Regions from separate parts of the Homo sapiens genome. Here region 1 is linked to region 2. The links are contacts of gene promoters, found by promoter capture Hi-C in human tissues and cell types (Jung and others, 2019). All regions are on one chromosome and are shown on one strand. The core of a region is centred on a gene start or on the middle of the fragment in contact, and the rest is flanking DNA. Distances in the headings are between cores, read along the strand shown. Region 1 overlaps PDE3A (phosphodiesterase 3A). Region 2 holds the start of PDE3A (phosphodiesterase 3A).

The links. Contacts are between HindIII fragments. The study calls those that stand out against the background at their distance.
Region 1: a contact is called between a fragment that was not itself captured here and the fragment with the promoter of PDE3A in region 2, in 1 of the 25 tissues and cell types used here (liver).

What each region holds. Positions count from the first base shown.
Region 1 is chr12:20,406,622-20,410,485 of GRCh38, reverse strand. The region is part of intron 1 of PDE3A (phosphodiesterase 3A); the gene reads right to left. Among named protein-coding and RNA genes, the nearest start is that of PDE3A-AS1, 38 kb to the right of the region's middle. The HindIII fragment of the contact is 3,857 bases long and covers 147-3,864 here.
Region 2 is chr12:20,367,231-20,370,821 of GRCh38, reverse strand. PDE3A (phosphodiesterase 3A) reads right to left here and starts at 2,285. Exons shown (of 16, transcript NM_000921.5): 1 at 578-2,285. The coding sequence starts at 1,537. PDE3A-AS1 (PDE3A antisense RNA 1) reads left to right here and starts at 566. Exons shown (of 2, transcript NR_186033.1): 1 at 566-981. RefSeq lists a silencer at 953-1,247. The HindIII fragment of the contact is 7,833 bases long and covers 1-3,591 here.

The DNA.
Region 1 (3,864 bases), core at 826-3,325, 40 kb before region 2:
GAATCATGAAAGTCCTGAAGTAACTGAGATCCCTCTTCCTCTCCCCACACTAGCAGAAAGAACAGAAATTATGTTTCATTTTCTCTGTGAATTGACTTTCTCTGCTTCAAGCCCTACAGCTTTTGCATGTTGGAAAAGACTAACTTAACTCTCCCTTGGTCCCAATACTGAATGCCTGAATCAGAATCTCACTGCTCAGCTTGGGGACGTACAATTGAGTGCAGCCAAGACAACAGGGTCATGCCAAACAAGTGTGGCTTCCCTGAGGATGGCTACAAAAAAGGATAGCCCAATACCACAATAAGATTTAACTAGTGCATCCCAGGGAAGAGCAATGTTTAAGGAATATGAAAATGAGGTCAGACAATGGACAGTTGAATTCAATGAATAGCTTTAGCCTGGGGACAGCAAGACTTGGGAATCCTAACAGACATGTAGGATAGAAAATAAACACTAGGACAAAGGAGTCAAAGTTACAAGGCAGTTTTTGGTTCAATATAGCAAGTATCCTATAGCAATATTTTATTTTAAAACATTTGTCTATGAGATAATCCATTTATATTATTACTCAACAAACTTGCAGAGCTGGAATTTAAATTTTCCTTTAGTAGACAGAAGACCAAAAGCTAAGGAATTTGCTGAATGCGCAATAACAAATAGTTAATCTGTAAAAGAATAGCAGCTTGCTCCAATGTGCACTTGGATTCAAAGCCTTTTTCCTTGTAATACTCCTTTGTATTGGTTTGATTTGTGGTGAGCTCTCTTTCATATAATGTATTTCAGTAGTGACTAAACATTTGTAACAGAAAGACTATTAAAAAATCATTATCTGGGGTAGAAGATTTATAATATCACCTCTCTGATGATATCCAACTATAATATTTCGTAAGATCACTATTTTTATTCAGCGACTTTATTTTGAAAGTATTCATTACAAGCAAAGACAACTACTTTCTTCCATCTATCAAAGATTTCACAATTTTGATCATTTCTGAAAGAAAATGTTCTCTCTACATAGTATCAAATTGTAGGTAAAAATTATTTTCTTTTTTGTCCTTAAGAAACTTAGTTCATCTTTAAATAAGAGAGCTAATAATAACAAATATATTCAAATCTGAGAAATACAGTTTTCTAGAAAGAGTTGTAGAAATGACCACAATTAATAAAAAAGAAAAAAGCTCAAATAGAATTTTAAAAAGTAAAACCTATTCAAGACTAAATATTGCTTGTGGCTTCAACCTGTGTCGCTGACTTACAAATATAACAACTATTAAGAATGTGAATACTCTATTAAATATTACTTTCAGATTCCAGATGCATCTGTCCAAGAAACTACATGAAAAGGAATTCAGGAGGAAATGAGGAGATGATGAAGAGGCTGGAGTTCTGTGCCTGCCTCCACTTCTGTCAATAGTTTGGATCAGATTTGTTTTACCATTCATTCATTGAATTTGCATGAAATTTCATTAAAAAAATTCCCATTTCCAGAAGAAAGGGAGGGAGAGAGGAAAGCGGGTAAAAAGGAAGAAGGAAAAATACACAAGCCACTCTTTTAGAGCTTTCCAGAATCCTCATTCTCAATGGATCCATCATTGCACTCAAAAACTGTGCAATCGAAATAATATATGTACACATAATTAATGTTGTCACAGAGCTTAATATTATCATGGCATTTAGAAAAGTCTGTTGAAAAACTTAAGACATGCATTAAATAAAATTAAAAGCATAAGATAGAGAACGGCAATAAATTATGTAATCACTCAGGATTATATATTTTCCTTTAAAACTTGTTTGTATGGTTTACAAAATACAAACATGGAATATTTGGGAAGAAAGCTCTGAAAGGAAAAAATGAGAACAGATGTCATGTTGAAATAATTATGTATAAATCCATTTAATCTTTGAAATAAAAATGAAAAATGACCCTTATGAAAAGAAACTCTTTAATGAACGCCATCTGCAAGTTAAAGTTAGCTTCAGTCAATTTTCTGTGAAGTGCTGTCCTTAATAATGAAGGGTTTTCTATCATTAACAGAGCCAAACAGCCATGTAAATTAAACTAGAGTATACAATATTACTAAGAATATAAAGTTTTGTAACTACAAGCTTTTATTTAAGGTATGCAGATTCCATACCAATATTTTATGTAGGAAGACTAATAACACTTGTTTAAATTTTTAACTTCAGCCATACTCTTATAGATTTCTAAAATATTAGTTATAATACATGATTTTTCTAATAAAGTTTTATTTGAAAGAAAACACATTGGCCAGGCATGGTGGCTCACGCCTGTAATCCCAACACTTTCGGGGGCTGAAGCGGGTGGATCACAAGGTCAGGAGTTCGAGACCAGCCTGACCAATAAGGTGAAACCCCATCTCTACTAAAAATACAAAAATTAGCTGGGCGTGGTGGCGCGCACCTGTAGTCCCAGCTACTTAGGATGCAGAGGCAGAATTGCTTCAACCCAGGAGGCAGACGGAGGTTGCAGTGAGCCAAGATCAAGTCACTGCACTACAGCCTGGGGGACAGAGCAACATTTAGTCTCAAAATAAATAAATAAATAAAAATAGAAAATACATTTTACTACACTTCAGTACAAGAGAAGTCTGAAACAATGACATTCAACAAAAACAAAAAAATTAATTTTTACACACTAGTTGCTTTTCTTCATGTAGTCAATATAGATATGTAATATGCTATATCTATACTATGAAAAACATATGAAAGCCAACTGGAAATAGTTTTTAAAAAAATTTATAAGTTTATAAAAAGCTAAAATTAAGTACTCCATAATCACTTAAAAATTTAATAAGCCACAAAATCTTTGTATTGGAAGGAATTGGGAATGCTGGTATATCTTCTTGCATCTACCCCATCTAATCCAATCTAATAAACTGGACCCCAAAGCACCACCAACCTCCCTCTGGGAACTTGGTAATCAGCTACAGTATATGGGAATAAAGCTTGTTTTGCTAGATTTAGAGTTACTACACTTCTACACCAAGAATACCTACATGAAGATACTTCAGACTAACTTTATTGCCTGCCTTTTTTGCCTTTCAAATAATTCAGCCATTCAATTAGAATTTATTCAGTTGTTCAATTTTTTAAAAAAAGTTTTTCATGAATAACCATGCTGAACCTAACCATGTATTTATGAGGAAAACAAAATTATATTGTGTACCTGCTATATGTTTGGCACTTTGACAGATGCTGTAAGCAAATTATCTCAAGATTAAGTAATAACATTTGGAGATAGGAAATATTGTACCCATTAAATAGAGAATGAAAAGGCACAGAGATGCTAAGTAACTTTCTCTAGATCACAGAGCCTGTAATCAACATCTATGCTGATCCCAAACTGTATAGTATACCAGTGACTTTTGCCTCCAATAAGGCAGAAAAGCAGCATAAGACAGGATGTCTATCACATAGACCAATAGAACAGAACAGAGAGCCCAGAAATAAACCTATGCACATGCGGTCACCTAATCCTTAACAAGGGCACAGAATAAACAATGGGGAAAGAATATGTCTTTAATAAATGGTGCTTGGAAAACTGTATATCCATACACACAAAAATAATATTGACTGTTATCTTAACCATACACAAAATTAGCTCAAAATGAACTAAAGACTTAAATGTAAGACCTGAAGCCATAAGACTCCTCTAATAAAACACAGAAAAAGACGTTCGTATTGGCAATGATTTTATGGGTATGACACCGAAAGCATAGGCAACAAAAGCAAAAGTAAACCAGTAGGACTCCATCAAACTAAAAGGCTTCTCCACAACAAAGGAAGTGATCAATGAAATGAAAATGCAACCTACAGAATAGGAGAAAATAACTGCACATCATA
Region 2 (3,591 bases), core at 1,036-3,535:
AGTCTCTCCAAATAAAACTTACTGCAAAACCAGAAAATGTGTATCAATTCCTCACCTTCAAGCACAGCTTGCTTTGCTCTAGAATCTTTTTACTGGTTTTCATAAATGTTTAATATCATTTCATTAAAAAGATTTTACTTTTTAAAAAGTAGAAATCTAGTAAAATCTATGTGTTAAAAAAATCACTCATTGCTAAAATCTAAACTTAATTCTAAAATTTCTGCTAAGGAAGGAAAGCGTAAGAGTACTGAAAAGAGTAGGCAAGCCATACACCAGGTGTAGCAGATCTAAAAAGTTGGCCCAGCTGTGGAAGACCCTACACATGCCATCTAGTTTTGTTAATTGTGTTTCAGTCGTTCAGGTTATAAAACTACTGTGTGAAAGAGAGGGCAAAAAAACAAAAAAAAAAAAACAAAAAAAACAAAAAAAAAACCTGCTAGTTTCTTAATTCTGAAGTTAGACCAGTTTTCTAGGCTATCTTCCCTTTAGTTCCCAGCGCTCGGATTCTCTCCACTCTGCGCCGGTTGCCAAGTGTTTCAAGTTTCCAAGAGCCGAGAGAGGAGTTGCCAGTGCTTACCTGTTCCCTCGGTATACAGGGCAGGGAGGTCCTCCGATGGGACTTGCTGCTGCAGCCGGACATCTCGGCGGACACGACGGAGCTGGACCGCCTCCTCCTCTTAAACACCGGGATATCTTCCTTGGTCCCAGCAATCAGCTGGGACCCCAAATGCTCCCTTGGAGCCGCCTCCGCGGACTGCGGCAAGATTTGTTCCACGTACCTGGCCAAGAGGATCCCCAGCACGCCGGCCAGGTACGCCAGGTAAGGTCTCCAGGCGACCTTGAACCTCTCTAAGGAAATGAGGGACACGGTCCTGACCGCGCTAGTCAAGGCGATCATGAGGACGCCCAGCCTCAGCCTCAGCACCAGCCATGTCGCGGCGGCCAAGCAGCTGAGCACCACCCCCGCGGCGGGGAGTGAGAGTAAGTGATCCTCCCCGACGCCCAGCCCAATCTGGACGAGCGCTTCCCCCCCGCAGCAGGCGGCCAGCAGCGCGACAGCCAGAGGCAGGCGCACCCCGGCGCGCAGGAGGTACAAGCCCATCCAGAAGAAGGCACACAGGAGACTGAAGAGCAGCGCCGAGGGCTGCAGCCAGGGGCTGAGCCGCGCACCGCCCCCGGGAGCACCTCCCCGAGGCCCCGGGAAGACGCCCCCTTCTGCTCCCGGGGCTGCTTCCTCCTCCTCCGCCGCCGCCGCCTCCTTACACTGCTCCAGGTCACAGCCGACCTCCCCGCGGACCAGCCTCACCAGCAGCGCCAGCAGAAAGGACAGGGAGCCCGCGCACAGCGCGGAGGAAAGTTTCCGAGAGCTCCGGAGCGGCTGCAGCACCAGGTCTCCCCAGCAGCCACGGCAGCCCGAGTCCCGCGGCGATGCGGGGTCCGCACGATGGTGGCAGTCCCGGCCCGCCGTGGGGGCTTGACTCACCCCACTGTGGACGGGCTTGTCCCTGACTCGTGCAGCGTCGCCGGGCACTGCCATGGTATAGGGTGCCCTCTTCACTGAATTCCCAGTGGCCCCCCGACGCCCCCGCCCCGACCCACGCGCGCGCGCGCACACACACACACACACACACGCACGCACGCTCTTCCCAATTCCACCCTCGGAATCCTTCTTCTCCCCAGGCCCACAATCCACTGAAAGTTTCAGCTTTCGAATAACTCCTGGAGAATGCTAGATGCTCCAATGAGACTTCTTCAAGTTAAAGGCTAGCACGCTCAAGTTGAAAACAAGCACGGGCAGAAACGATCAGGATTCCCCTTTTCTCTCTTTGAATATCTTTCACAGATTCTCTGCTCCACCCCCACCCCCGACTTATATCCTCCGGGGTCTCTTCCTACTTCAGGATTTCAAAAATTGCCCAATGCATCCCGCGCGCAGGAGCCGCTGACGCTGGAGGAGCCGGGGGCGCAGGGCGGGCTCCGGGCCATTCCGAGGCGCAGCTCGGCGCTGCGCTGCGCTGCAGCGCGCCGGGCCCGCGGCAGATGGAGGTCTCCCTTCTCCTCCTTCCTGCAGCTCTTTTTCTATCACTCTTTCTTTCTCCTCGGCCGATTCTCCCCGGCACGGCCCCAGGACGCGAATCGCCATTCCCTGGGGCAGAAAGCAAAGCCTCCCCCGCCTCTGTCAATCCAATTCATGGCAAAGGATGGAAAAAAAAAAATGGACAAGGGGCTGAGAAATAAGAAGTTGCTAAGTCCCGTCGGAGAGAGAGCCAGACCGAGAGACTAGCGGCAGCCGCAGAAGGGAGGGAGGGAGAAGGAGCGAGTAAGAGAGGAAGGGAGGGTGAGAAGAAAGGGAGGGTGAGAAGGGAGAAGGAGATTTGCTTTTTTTTTCCCTCCCCACTTCTATTTGATGCAAGGTTGGTGGTGATTTGCAGTTTTGCAAAGGGGAAACGAGTGGCGACGACTGCTTAAAATTGTATAAAACTGGCAACTGGAGTGATCGACAATTCCGCTTTCTTTCTTTAAGGCAACTCCCTAGGAAAGCTTTCTCAGCCGAGCTCCCGCCCCCTCCTGCGGAGGAGGCGCTACCCTCAGCTCGATTGCTCCTTTGCTGGGAAAGCGGCCGGTTCACCCTACAGGCTGGAGCAGGGGCTGCTGAGGCTGATCCACCGCGCAGCCCACCGCAGCCCCGGGGTGTGGGGGGCTGCGGCTAGCCCTGAGGCTGAGCTCCCTAGAACGTTGGAAGGAAAAAAAAAAAAAAAAGATTGTGTTTGCCTACTTGGCAGATGAGAGCCAACATACTTTCTACTGTCCCTGAAAATGACAGCCACTTCTACTGTCTGATTCAAAGATGTTCCCAAGTCAGGTACAACAGCAGTCCAATTTCAGGTGACAGTGTCATCCTTTGGTCGCTCCTGCTGGAAGGTCTGCTTTATGAGAACCCAAGCCTGGCCTGTTGGTTCAAATGATGGAAGAATCAGCCTTACCTAGACCACAATAGTATAAAAAGAAAGGAAGGAGAGGCAGCAGTCATTTAAATCCAGTGCATGAGTATTACACAATAGTTTTTGACTGTGGAAAGTAAAATTACATTGAGATTAAGTGACCGTATCCTCAAAAAAGGTTAACAAAGTTTAAAAGCCCAGATAGTTCATCAAAAAATAAAGAAAAATCTCAAGGGAGAGGTGAGGATAGGTGGGTTAACACTAGGAGAGATCTTAGAAGACTGTCTATGGCTGCAAAATACTACATCTTCGAGCAAAGCATATGAAAAAAATCAGGACCTTAGTTATTAATGAGTAAAGGTTCGTGTACTGCAGCAGTGTGATATTTGAGAAACTAAAAGAAAATTTTCAAGCTAACCTTTTTTTGGCAGATTATGAAAAAGAATTCAGTATCTGTTCAATGGACTTAAACTCTATTGATGTTCCCTGGGATCTAGTTGTCTTTTTAATATGATACTCCACTTTTAACATGGCTATCTTAGATGTCATTTGCCCTCACTAATAATAATCTTAATAATCCAATTTTGTCTTAATTATCTTGACATTCCAGGTTAAAGTGTATTTACAGCCTAGAGCATTTAGATAATTG